Linked DNA regions of Homo sapiens: region 2 is linked to region 1. Evidence: promoter capture Hi-C in human tissues and cell types (Jung and others, 2019). All regions are on one chromosome and are shown on one strand. The core of a region is centred on a gene start or on the middle of the fragment in contact, and the rest is flanking DNA. Distances in the headings are between cores, read along the strand shown. Region 1 holds the start of CNOT10 (CCR4-NOT transcription complex subunit 10). Region 2 overlaps CMTM8 (CKLF like MARVEL transmembrane domain containing 8).

Region 1 (6,756 bases), core at 2,106-4,605:
TTGCTGCAACCTCTGCCTCCCAGGTTCAAGCAATTCTCCTGCCTCAGCCTCCCAGCTAGCTGGGATTACAGGTGTGCGCCAGCATGCCTGGCTAATTTTTGTATTTTTAGTAGATGGGGTTTCACCATGTTGGTCAGGCTGGTTTTGAACTCCTGACCTCAGGTGATCCACCCCCCTCAGCCTCCCAAAATGCTGGGATTACAGGTGTGAGCCACTGCACTTGGCCTTCTTCAGAGTATCTATCACAACTTGAAATCATCTTATTTTTCATTTTATTTACATGCTTATCTGTCCTTCATAGTAAATAAGCTCCAGAACAGAGACTTTGTTTTGTTCCTGCCCAGTTCCTAAAGTAGTACCTGGCAAAACAGGCCATTGGTGAATATTTACTGAATAAATTAATATCACAACATTAACTCATCTTAGGTGGTCTCTAGGCTTCCTGTCTTACTTCATTTAAATCCACCACCTACAACAGTCAGTGTGATCAGATCACTCACCTTAAGTCCTTTCATGACCCTTTTTTCTTACCTGATGAAGAACACACACACAAGACCCTCCGTGACAAATATCCTGACCTCGTGAGCTCAGAGAGGAAGCAGCATGTAAGATAGACTGAATGAATAGTGTTCACCAGACGGAGAAGAGAAAGGACACTACGGCTCAAAAGCTCAAAAAACACAATGCTTTGCAACAGTAATTTATGATGTGAAGAGCTGGGTGGGTTGATACAGAAATCCAGCTGGAAATAGATTTTGAAGATGCTCACAAACCACATTAGAGTGAGGACGGCAGGGCGCGGTGGCTCACGCCTGTAATCCCAGCACTTTGGGAGGGCGAGGCAGGCGGATCACAAGGTCAGGAAATGGAGACCATCCTGGCTAACATGGTGAAACCCTGTCTCTACTAAAAAATACAAAAAAATTAGCAGGGCGTGGTGGCGGGCGCCTGTAGTCCCAGCTACTCGGGTGGCTGAGGCAGGAGAATGGCGTGAACCCGGGAGGCGGAGCTTGCAATGAGCCGATATCGCACCACTGCACTCCAGCCTGGGTGACAGAGCGAGACTCCGTCTCAAAAAAAAAAAAAAAAACAAAAAAAAAAAACCGTGAGGACTTAAAAGGAGAAAGAAAATACAATAAAAATTAAATAAAAAGAATGATGACTTGATGCCCAAAGCATGTACAGTCTTAGAAACTTTATAGGAAGGGGAATGACAGGATTCAATGAATGTCTTAGGACATAAAAAAAGCGGGGGGCGACAGTGAGGAAAATGGATGGGATAGGAAGAGACAAGAGACAAACACCAGTGAGAAGACTACTCAATGCGACATAGATCATATTAAAAGATAAAGGCCAGAAACACAGCAGATGAGATGGAGATGAGCAGAGATTCAAAGGAGCTACACTAAACACTCATCTATTTTATTCAAATTTAACCTTATATCAAAGCAGGAAGTTTCCTTCAATATGGCCTATAAACTTAAACCAATGAAAAAAACAGTCCCCTAATCACTGTGGACCTTATTCTTCAACTACACACATTACACAGCTCTTACCAAACAGGAGTGCAGCTAGGATATGCCTGTCTCCTCCAACAGACTGAACAGCAGGTCTTCAAAGGCAGGGAGTGTGTCATATCCATTATTCAACACTCAATCTTTGCGAATGAATAAATGAACAAGTAGAAGGCTTTATGACTGAGGATTTGAAAACTGGATGGGCTTTAGGTCTAAAAGGGTGATTTCGGGCAAGCGCAATGGTATGAGCAAGTAGGAATGGTAAATGTGGGGAACACAGACACTATTCTAAAATAAGGAGGAAGATGTTGGTCCCCTGGTCCAGCCTTGGACAGGCCATGCCGTTTTCCTGTCTAATAGTCTCTCCCTCATCCACCTTTCCTCATTTCTTATGGCTCATTCCCTCACTTCTTACATATCTCTGCTCAAATATCATCTCACCAGAGGCCTTCCCTGAACAACCTATCCAAAATTTCACAGCACATTCCTTATACCCTCTCAAGGCCTTTGTTCTGTTGTTTTTCTTCTTAGATTATTGAAGAGATCCTCTAATGATTTTTATTCCTCTGTACCTAAAATAGAATTGGCTTAATTTCCAAGTGAAGTTCATTTGTCAGTTATTGTGACCAGAACCTACTAAAATCCACAGCACACTGAGTTTTTCTTTAATTTTAAATTAAATTCACTGTAAAAATTTTAAGTTCCATCACTTTTAAATCCTGTCACTTAAGTTCTTTCCAATAAAACCTGGATGCCACAAAGAATATGAATTTCTTGCGGGAAACATTCCGGACAAGGTCAGGAAATAATTTTATATTCCTTAATGTGGAAGATTCTAGGAATGGGAGCAATAATCCATAAAGAAAACCATTGAGATTAAGTAATTTCGAGGAACTAGAGCAATTAAGTACCAAATGCAAGATTTTAGGAGCACAGACTGTAGAGAGACAATAGGATTTTATGCCTTTTTAAATAAGTGGTTTACTTTGAGAGGCCAAGGCGGAAGGATCGCTTGGGCCCAGAAGTTCGAGATCAGCCTGGGCACCATAGCGAGACCCCCGCCCGTCTCTATCAAGAAAAAAAAAAGTGGTTTTTACAAAGTTAATTTCACAGGAGTCAATGACCAGAGGAAGCCACATGTGGTCAAAACAGCCCAGGTGAATCCCAGCCTCAGCCACGCGATATTATAGGCAGATGTGTGCTCCAGGGTGACTTTCTCTTGTCTGCTTTTCCCACGAAGAAGCGGAAAATTCTGCGAAGCGGCAAAATACATTTAAGCTTTTTGGGCCGGAGTTATTCTGAAGAGCAGGGCAAAGGCGGCCAGTGGCGACTTCAAATACTGCACTTGAGTAAAACAACTATTGGACCCGGGGCCCGAAGACTCATGTTAGCGACAGCCGAGACAGAGGATGGGGTAAAGAAATGCACGCCCAAATTCAAGTCGCCCTGGAGTCCCCACCCCGGGCCCCGCCGCCTCCGAGTTCAGGGTCCGCCCGGCCCCGCACGTCCCGCCGTCTCGTCGCTCGGGACATTGGCGCCCTACCTGCAGGCTTGTCTGCAGCCATCTTCCCGCTTCGACTCGGGTTCTTCCCTGCAGGTGGCGTGGCCCTGACTCCCGCCGCCGGGCTGGCCGCTGTCCTGGACCTCCGAGGACAACTCTGTGCCTACCCCGGCTCCGGGCCCCCAGGTTCCGGCTAGAGGAGTGGGCAGACGGCGGGCTGAGGAAGTGACGAGAGCTAGTTCCCGTCGTCTAGCAACAGCAACAGCTTCCCCACCAAGGGACCGCCACAGCCTCCCGCCATACACAGCTTCCGCCTCACGGCGTCCCGGTACCCACTACTTCCGGGGGCGGCAGCCTGCCGCGCCTGGAGCGCCGGCGTGGGAACTGCTACTGGCCCCGCCCCACGCCGACGTCCCCTCCGCGCCCCGCCTCCGGCCGGACGTACTCTGGCTGGAACCTCTGGATGTTCACAGGGCTGACGCGGTGGGACGTACGCGCGTCTGTCCTTTGCTTACTCTAATTAAAACACCGAGGTGTCAGAGCTTTTGTCCCTCAATGTTACATAATATTACAATAACCACATCTGACATTTATGTGCTAAGCACTGAGCCCTGCACTTGGTCTGTACTATCTCATTGATTTCTTGCAACCCCATGAGAGAGGCGCTGTTGAGGATTCCCGTTTAAAAAGAAACGCCTTTTATTTTAGAATAGTTGTAGTTGTGCAGAAAAGTTGCAAAGATGACACCTAGAGTTCCTGTCTCCTCACCTAGTTTCTCCTATTGTGAACATCTTAATTATTTTACTATGTTACGTTGATCACATCTAAGAAACCAGTTTGATTGGCGCACTATTACTCACTAAACTACACATTTTATTCACATTTACCAGCTTTCTTTCAATGTCCTTTTTTTGTTGTTGTTCCAGGATCCTGTCCAGGACACCATATTGCATTTATTCATTATGTCGTCTTAGGCTATTTTTGGCTGTGGCAGTTTCTCAGATTCTTCTTGTTTTTGATGACCTTGACAGTTTTGAAGAGTTACTCCTCAGATATTTGGTGGAATGTGCCTCAATTTGGGTTTGGCCAATATTTTTCTCATGGTTAGACTGGGGTTTTGGGTGTTTAGGAGGAAGACCACAAGGTGACTGGCTGTTCTCATCACATAGAATCAAGGGTACATGCTGTCAAAATGACATCACTGATCATGTTAACCTTGATTACCTCTCTAAGGTAGTGCTTGCCAGTTTTCTCTACTGTGCAATTACTCCTCCTACCCTTCCACACTACTTTGGAACCAAGTCAATAAATGCAACCCACACTCAAGGTGGGAAGGCGGGGTATTTAAGCTCTACCTCCTGCAGTGGGGAGTATGTACATAAATTATCTTCCCCAAGGGAAGTTTGCCTCTTCTCCCTCACTTAGCTATTTATATCAGTATGGACTCATGGATGTTTATCTTATAATGGTTACATTCCAATACTACATTATTTTGTTGCTAAAATTGTCCCAGCTTTGTTAATTGGGAGATTTTTCAGGTTTGTACCTGTTTTTTTCTTTTTTTTTAACTTTTGTTTTAAACTTTCTTTTAAAAAAGTATTTGTTTTTGGCCGGGCGTGGTGGCTCACACCTGCAATCCCAGCACTTTGGGAGGCCAAGGCAAGTGGATCACTTGAGGTCAGGAGTTTGTGACCAGCCTGGCCAACATGGTGAAACCCCGTCTCTACTAAAAATACAAAAATTAGCTGGGCGTGGTGGTGTGCACCTGTAATCCCAGCTACTTGGGAGGCTCAGGCAGGAGAATCCCTTGAATCCGGGAGGCGGAGATTGCAGTGAGCCAAGATTGCCCCACTGCACTCCAGCCTGGGCAACAGAGTGAGACTCTGTCTCAAAAAAAAAAAAAAGTATTTGTTTTTTCTTAAACTTTTTAATTCAGGCTAACATACACAAAGAAAAGTGCATGAATCATAAGTACAGTGTATTGACTTTTCATCAACTCAACACATACATATAACTAGCACCCAGAGAAAGGGCAGAGCTTTACCCATATCTGGGAGTTCCCCTCATGCCTCTTCCCATCTCTCCACAAAGATAATCATTATGCTGACATTTAACACTATGGATTAGCTTCACCTGCTTTTAAACTTAATGTATATACATTATACAATATATTTTTTAGGGTCTAGCTTCTTTTGCTCGATAGTATGAGATTCATTGACATTGTTGAATGAAGTTGTATTTGTTTCTCATTGTTATATATTATAATGTTACATTATGTGAATATTCCTTAATTTATGTATTCATTTTATTGTTGGGCATTTGGATATTTTATCTATTTTGAATAGGGCCAATATGATTACTCTAGTATGACTTTTGATGAATATGTGCCCACCATAAAAAGGCATACCTGGCTGGGCAAAGGCATACCTGGCCGGGCACGGTGGCTAATGCCTGTAATCCCAGCACTTTGGGAGGCCGAGGCAGGCAGATTACCTGAGATCAGGAGTTTGAGATCAGCCTGGCCAACATGGTGAAACCCCGTCTCTACTAAAAAAAAATACAAAAATTAGCCGGGCGTTGTGGCGGGTGCCTGTAATCCCAGCTACTTGGCAGGCTGAGGCAGGAGAATTGTTTGAACCCGGGAGGCAGAGGTTGCAGTGAGCCGAGGTCGTGCCATTGCACTGCAGCCTGGCCAACAAGAGCAAAAGTCTATCTCAAAAATAAATAAATAAATAAATAAAATAAAGAATAAAAAATAATAAAAAGGCACACCTGAAGTGTAGTAGGGAGCCTCTTAATGAAAAGGAATTAGGAGGAATCTCTTATAGAATTTGGGCTTATTCTAGAGGGATTGGGAAAGTAGGAGGCCAAATTTGAATTGGATGCTGTCAGGAAACAAGCAATTCAGTCTTGGTTTTATCTAAACAGAAGGAGGAACAAAGCAAGCTAGAGCTGTCATTGGTTAAAAAAAAAGCGGGATCATTTACATTAGAAGAAGGGGGTGTTTTCCCATTTGTGTGGTTGTTGAGGGCCTTGTTTCTGTCTTGTCCAAAACACGATCATGGTGAAACTGTCTATGAACATTGTTCATATTCTGTGAGTGCTGTTTATGTCCAGTTGGGAACATTCTACTAACAGAACTGTTTTTTTTTTTTTAATTTTCTTAGTCCCCTTTTCACTTTCTCACATGTGGTCACATCTATGTTGGTTCTTGTCCCCCATTTCATAGATAGGGAAACTGAGGCACAGATGTTAATCCACTTTCCCAAGCCACAAGACTGGTAAATGGCTATTATCTTAACCACTACATTCTAGATTCTAGGATTTGCTATTATATTGAAGATATTTGGGCTCTCTTCCCTCTACTTTCCGTATCAGCAGCTCTCCCTTTTTTCACAATCAGGCTGACATCAATGATGGATAACTAATTCAGGAGTGGGGAGGTGGAAAAGCTCAGTAGGATTTTGCTCCGTCATAAACTACGGTGAGTCACTTTACCTCCAGCTAATAATGATACCACTATCCATTCACAGTACTTTAGACTGTATGTGGTTTGTTTGTTTGTGTCTGTGTTTTGAGACAGGTTTCACTCTGTTACCCAGGCTGCAGTGCAGTGGTATAATCATGGCTCACTCCAGCCTCTAACTCCCAGTTTCAGGTGATTCTCCCACCTTAGCCTCCCAAGTAGCTGGGACTACAGGTGCACGCCACCACACCTGACTAATTTTTTATATTTTT
Region 2 (7,413 bases), core at 4,403-6,902, 380 kb after region 1:
GGCCTCCCATTAAGATGTTATTTACTGGATGGGAGATCTCTAAAGCATCTCCAGACAGTGTATCTACAGCTCAGGTATATTTTTTTCTTGGAGCAAAAACACAGCTGAACTGTAAATTTAAGCTGAAGCCTGACAGTGCCAGCAAAATCCCTTTGCTCTAGAATTCTGCCACGCTGGAATCTGATGGGATTCCTTTGGAGAGCCATCTCCCAAATTTGTCCCTACAGTTGAGTACCTAATTTCAAAGCCACACTTTAGCCTTGATAAATTCGATTTACAGAAAAAAAAAACCACAATTTTAAAAATCATCCACAGCCCCACTACTCCTTTCTACACATGAGAACAGTAAAAATCAGAATGGATGGATCTCCTGTGTTCACTTAGTCTCATTTTGAGATGTCCTTAATTTGCTTCCTCTTTTCTAAAAACTGAGCTGTGAAAATAAAGACTGGCTGTGAGAACCTCAAATGGTCCTGCAGAAAGCAGGGCTGACCAGGCAAGGTTGAGGGTGACTGAACTCAGTCATCTGATGCCTGGGGGCAGTGAACAGACATTCCCATCGAAAGTTCAGGATGCCCGCAGTACGAGAGGGCCTCCCTGCATAAAGCTCCCATCCCCTACTGTGACTTAGGAAATCATAAACCCCAAGAGCACAGACAGGGCTAACACAGGGTATGAACATCTGTTCTGGACTTCTGATGAACCACAGGCTCAATCAGAATAGCCAAGTTACTGAAAGCATGACCGACTTTGAGGAAAAGTGAGACACCTAGGTTCTATAAGTCTGGAACACTACATGGACACAAGAGTCCAGCACGGGGGCATAAGAAAAAAAATTGGTTGGCCAGGTATGGTGGCTCATGCCTGCAATCACAGCATTTGGGAAGCCGAGGCAGGTGCATCACCTGAGGTCAGGACATCGAGACCAGCCTGGCCAAGACGGCAAAACACTGTCTCTACTAAAAATACAAAAATTAGCCGGGCGTGGTGGTGCACACCTGTAATCCCAGCTACTCAGGAGGCTGAGACATGAGAATCACTTGAACCCGGGAGGTGGAGGTTGCAGTGAGCTGAGATTGTACCACTGCACTCCAGCCTGGGCGACAGGGCAAGACTCTGTCTCGAAAAAAAAAAAAAAAAAAAAAAAATTGGTAAATTGGTTGAGAGCTCAGCCATGCTTGAGCCCTTCCAAGTTTAAACCCAAATCAGCTGGTCTTCCCACAGCACCAAGTCTAGAAAGGCCCAGGCAATGCTCTGCCCCACCACCCTCCACCCATTTCTGTGAACCAGCAGTGAGTGTGTTAAGGATGCTTGTCTGGAGATGAGCAACTTGGTACACATGCGTACATATGACCCAGACTCAGCACTCCCCAGGACACCCAGTTCTCACTAAGAAACATCCAATGACCTTTCAAACCTCCTGATTCTCCCAACCTCATAGTGCCATAACCTCAAGGACGATGGGTGTCTGAAGACAGGGGCCAATCCCTTTTGGTCATGGTTGATACAGAGCTGCCACGATGACTTTCCAGCATAGGAAGGAGCATCTCTAATGGTAGGGCTGCTGTGACCCCAAATTCTGAGTTTTGAACCTTAGGTTCCTAGAGATGTTACCACCTTATTTTCATGTGACAGTTGCACCATAGGATCTAATGGATAATATATATTAAAGTTCACTAAGCGTCATTGTGTCTATTAACTCATATTAAAATACATTAAGAGCAGATTATGTCTATTTTGAGTACCTCATACATAACTTGCAGTGTTCTAAGGGCTTTCCATGTATTCTTATTTAATCCTCATCATGATTCTGAGGTAGGTACCATAATTAGTCCCATTTTACAGATGGAGAAACTGAGACACAGAGAGGTGAAGTCATGCTGAACTCATGAACGATGATAGAGCCCCGATCTCCTCATGCCAGTGCCCTTTCCAACTCTAGTGCACTCTCCACTGTCCCATCCAAGTAGCTAAGTTCTGGAGAAGAAACTGCGGGCTGGAAATGCTTAGCTGTGTGCTCAAGAGCTCTCCTGCAAATCTGTTTTCTTTTAAGCATAACCATGCAGACATATGGAGGGGGACTTCACATAATTGTTTTTCTCTATAAAGACAACTCAATATATTTTTCTGTAGCTTGATTTTTTATTTCTTCACAATATATCACTAGCATCCCTCACACTGTGGACATGAATCTGCTTCTGTGTTTTCTGATGCTGTGGAAAGCAGGACCATTTAGTCTGAATGTCTCCGCCTCCCTGTGCTAAATTAGAGACATGGAGTCGGTAGAGTGCGAAGGAGGTGTGACTCTTTCATCCTGAAAGGATGCTTAAGTCTCTTATGATAACAATTAAATGGTAAGGAAAAATCCTCAACACCCTGTGGTGTCTTCTATTTTCTGCTCTCTTCTCCTTTTGAATTGAGCCGCTTAAAGGAATGGTCTTAACTGGGTATCTCAGTATTCTCTTGGCTTCTCAGAGCCTAAACTCTCTTAAATGCCTTTGCTGACTTATTTCCCTTTGCCCACTCCTTGAACATGGCCTGCCAGGGCCTTCTCCATTTGTACTTTTGCCCCAGACTGGCTCTCAAAGTGTGGTCCCAGACCAGCAACATCAACGTCACCTGGAAGCTTGTTAGAATGCAAATTCTATGGCTCCACTCCAGATCTACTGACTCAGGAACTCTGGGGGTGGGGCCTGGGGAGCTCCGATTTAACAACCTTCCAGGTGATTCTGATGCAGCTAAAGTTTGAGAACCATTGCCTTAGACAAACCCACCCCTAGCAGTCACCTCCTCCCATTGACTGGAAATTCCCACATCTTCATCTTTAACCTCGACTTCTCTTCAAGCTACATACCTACACATGCAAGTATGCTCTCTGGCCATCTCTGCCTTGCCACTCCACAGTCTCCTATACTGAATGCTGCCCAAAAAGGACTTACTTATCATCTCCCCGAGGATCTGTTCTTTCTCCCTCATTCCCAGCAACTCATGCCAACACCATCTCCCCACCTACCCAAGACAGAAACCAGGAAGTCATCCTAGACTCCTGCTTTTCCCTCATCCAGTCAGCCACCAGGTCAGGTTGATTCTACCTTCTCTTTTTTTTTAAGATGGAGTTTCGCTCTTGTCGGTCAGGCTGGAGTGCAGTGGTGCGATCTCAGCTCACTGAAAACCTCTACCTTCCGGTTTCAAGTGATTCTCTTGCCTCAGCCTCCCGAGTAGCTGGGATTACAGGCATCCACAACCATGCCCAGCTAATTTTTGTATTTTTAGTAGAGACGGGATTTCACCATGTTGGCCAGGCTGGTCTCAAACTCCTGTCCTCATGATCCACCTACCTCGGCCTCCCAAAGTGCTGGGATTACAGGCATCCACAACCATGCCCAGCTAATTTTTGTATTTTTAGTAGAGACGGGATTTCACCATGTTGGCCAGGCTGGTCTCAAACTCCTGTCCTCGTGATCCACCTACCTCGGCCTCCCAAAGTGTTGGGATTACAGGCGTGAGACACTGTGCCTGGCATCTTCTCTCCATTTTTATGACCTTAATTCAGATTCTCAGCTGGCCTAAGTCAGCTTCCAATGAGGCACCCAAGGACCTAATGTAGTACCCGTCTCTTCCAACCCTCACACTATTGCCAAGATAATCCCTCTAAAACATGAGTCTAAATGCATTAACCTTACCTAAAACTCAAGGTTGCCCACTAAACCTTAGCACCAAATCCCAACTTCTCAACAAGGAAGTATCCAGTCTCATCTTCTGCTGTTCCTATAGACATTCCAGGTAGATGTAACCATTTGCCTCAGCAATCTTACTCCTGAGAATATAGCTTCCAAATTATCAAACAGCTCCACAAGGTGACATGTACAAAGATATTTATCACAGCTTCCAGAGTTGGAATCAACTTTGGCTTCCATCACTGGAAGAGTGAATAGGCAAAAGGTGGTGGATGCATACTCTGACTAATCAATGGCTCTAATTAAACTCCCTATAACCATCCCTTTGCAATGTCGCTTTTCAGTTCCTCCCATCAAGTGGTGGAGTCTATTTCCCCACACTTTGAATCCAGACTGGATTTGTGGATTGGACTCGTGCCTTGGTTTAGCCAACAGAATATGGCAGAAATGACTGTGGTCAAGTTCCAAGTATAGGCCTTGCACAATTCTCCTCCCTTGGATTCCTGGCCTTGCCATCAGGTGACCAAGTTTAGGCCAAACTGATGAAGGATGACAACAATGTGCCATGGACCTCTTAAATCATGCAGTCTCCAGCAGATCACAGATGAATGAGTGACACCAGCTGAGATCAGCAGACCCAGACACAAATCAGCCAAACCACTCAACCAACCCCACAGACTCACGAAAAAGGAGTGACCATTGTTTTAAGTCACTAAGTTTGGGATGGTTCATCACAAAGCATACTAACTGCTACACACTCCAAGGAGTACCAGGAAAGCAATTCAAAGCAACAGAATAGATGGATCCATAGCAACATGAATTGATTTTAATAGCATAGGGTTAACTGGAAAAGAACTGAATGAGATATCTTAACACAATTCCATCTACATAAGTTATCTACAGTCAATACACATTTTATTTTTTAAAAACATGCAAAATTAAAGATTTCTGTTATATTTAACCCACGAATATGGTTGCCAGTGGCATGGAGGAAAGGAGGCACAAATGAGGAAACAATAAGAGGCCTCCATGGAACAATGATGATGCTGTATGAACTGAAGAGTGGGATTTCTCAACCCTCCACACTTACTAATGCCTACTCATCTGGTAAGTCCCAGCCCAAATGGGGCTCCTACTTATAGCCTGCTGTGCCATCTCCTCTCAGATCATTAAGGCTCGTAGATGAATAAGAAAGTGTATTTACCATAGTTTTGTGATTGTCAACAGCTGTGATATAACCAGCTTTGAAGGCAGGGTCCAGGACTTCATTTTCTTGGAACACCCAGTATCTCATACACTGCACATATTTGTCAGTAAAATAACTTTCTATCCTGTAAAGCAGTTTTTCCAACCTTGCCATCAGTGACATTTTGTACCTGATGCCAATACCACCCTCCTAGTTGTGACAATCAAAAATGTCTCCAGTCGCAGGAGAATGGCGTGAACCCGGGAGGCTGAGCTTGCAGTGAGCAGAGATCACGCCACTGCACTCCAGCCTGGGTGACAGAGCGAGACTCCGTCTGAAAAAAAAAAAAAAAAGCCTCCAGTCATTACCAAATGTTCCCTAGGGAAAAAAACTGCACCCTGACTGAGAACCACTGCCTTAGCCGCTTGAGTCCATAAAGCCACAACTCGAAGATGGCTTTGTAGAAACATTTAATATGTTTGAAACAAAAATGTTTGAGATTAGGAATTACATCACTCTCTACCTAATGCCGCCCAAGGGAGATTTAGATTGCCAAAATATTTCTGTCTTAAAGAGATGGTTCTCAGCCACTAGCCCAAAACTAATGTTTTAGTTCACTACCCTATGGGGAAAGATTAAATACAAAATTCACTTGAGCTTTCTCATCTATGCAGAAATATTCCTCCTCATAAGCTTTAGTCAAACCTTTTATTTACAAAGTTTAAATCTGTCTCCTTAAGTCAATGGCATAGGCTGCTGATTTCTGTTATACTGCAGAAGCTGTTTATCTAGCTGGACCTGCTAAAGCAGATGTTCCTACTCTGTACTATTAACTGGAACATGAAAAACCAACATGTAACCAAGCTGAAAGAATTCTGCCTCATTTATCTTGTGTGTGCCACCAGGGCAAACACCAGGCATTTTAATAACCTCATCTGGACCTTCGGTAATCATTGCAGGCTACTAACTCCAGACAAATATTTGCCTTGGAGGTTTCTCTATGGAGAGACAGAAGTAAACTAAGCTTCTTTTGTTCATATAGATTGAGTATGACAATCTAGAAAATACAGAGCACTCACATCATTCATTTCTTGTAACTATACAAATAAAGGAGCAATGGAATTGATTCTACAAAGATCTGCTGGAATACATTTCCTTTATACTTTTCCTTTCCCCCATGCCATCTCCAACAACAAATCAAAGTACAGCTGAGAAGAACATCAGTGGATGTTACAATCAGAGAGGCCAAGGCTGTTGGGGGAAAATTCATTCTCCTTGTCTCAGAATAGGACACCCATTTTCAGCCCCCTGCCAACACCCAAACTTTTACATGAGAATAGGGTCCCTTTTATAAGACCTGGCAGATGCTACTGTAACTAAGTGACCAAACTTAGCAACACTGATTTTGGTACAACCAATTATCATGCGATCACAACCAGATACATGCCAGCACCACCTGGGCTGTATTCTTACCCAAATGGTCTAACAGGCTGAGGATTTTTCTAGATTAAAGGTGACTAAAGAAACATGGCAACTAAAAGAAATCTGTCGATCCTTGACTGGATCCTCAAACAAAAGGCTGAAGTAAAGGACATTCTTGGGACAAAGTAGAAAATTTGAATATGGACTGCATCACATATTAGTGAATTGATGCTAAATTCCTTGAGTGTGATGAAGGTATTACAATTAATTTAAATAATTTAATAGTTATTTAATGATTTTTGGTAAATACATACTGAAATACCTAGGGAATAAATGTCAGGCCTGCAACTTCCCAGTGGTTTAACAACAACCACAACAAAAATAAGATCACACACATTCACACAGCGAGAGAAACCAGATGTAAAAAAATGTGAGCTGGCAAATGTAAGTGAGGAGTCTACAAAATTTAAGCGAAGGAGTCTATATTGTTCTACTTTCCTGCAGATTTGAAATTTTTCAAAATTACAGTTGGGAGGGGGAGGGGGGAAGCTCGGTTACCATCAATGTGTAAACAAGCCAGAATGTTTCAGAAATGAAACATACGGGAAGAAAGTATGAGAACCAAACAGTATTTCCTGCCTCAAATTTGAAGATAAGCGACCCAATTTACTTTTAAGTGTTTGGAGGCATAAGATAAAAACAAAAACGAAACACCTGAATCTAAACCAACACATTTGACCCTGTCACCACATTAAGAACGAGCTGAACTCAGACATTTTGATGCATCAGAGTTCTCAAAAATACTAGAAATATCTCACTGATATGATAATGGCCTTGAAGATTTATGCAGATACGAAATGAATTCCAAGCAAAGCATTAAAGTAATCTTCATAACTTGTTAACACAACTGCTCTCAAGAGAATGTTGAGAAATCTTGCCAGGAAAGGCCTACAGTTCCCAGCAAGCAGTAACTATCAGCAACTTAAGAAGACAAAGATCTTTTTTAAAAACCTTACTTATTTGCAACCTACATTTGTTTTGGATCCTAGACGCCTGCAATTTGGACACTCAATTTAGAGTTTATGTAATAGTGATCAAAAAGGATTTGCTGGAAGGGAGAAAGCTGTG

What was found. Contacts are between HindIII fragments. The study calls those that stand out against the background at their distance.
Region 2: a contact is called between a fragment that was not itself captured here and the fragment with the promoter of CNOT10 in region 1, in 1 of the 25 tissues and cell types used here (liver).

The regions. Positions count from the first base shown.
Region 1 is chr3:32,681,787-32,688,542 of GRCh38, reverse strand. CNOT10 (CCR4-NOT transcription complex subunit 10) reads right to left here and starts at 3,355. Exons shown (of 19, transcript NM_015442.3): 1 at 3,061-3,355. The coding sequence starts at 3,082. RefSeq lists a silencer at 3,245-3,554. The HindIII fragment of the contact is 8,061 bases long and covers 530-6,756 here.
Region 2 is chr3:32,303,036-32,310,448 of GRCh38, reverse strand. All of the region lies in intron 1 of CMTM8 (CKLF like MARVEL transmembrane domain containing 8), which reads right to left. Among named protein-coding and RNA genes, the nearest start is that of CMTM8, 68 kb to the right of the region's middle. The HindIII fragment of the contact is 3,122 bases long and covers 4,092-7,213 here.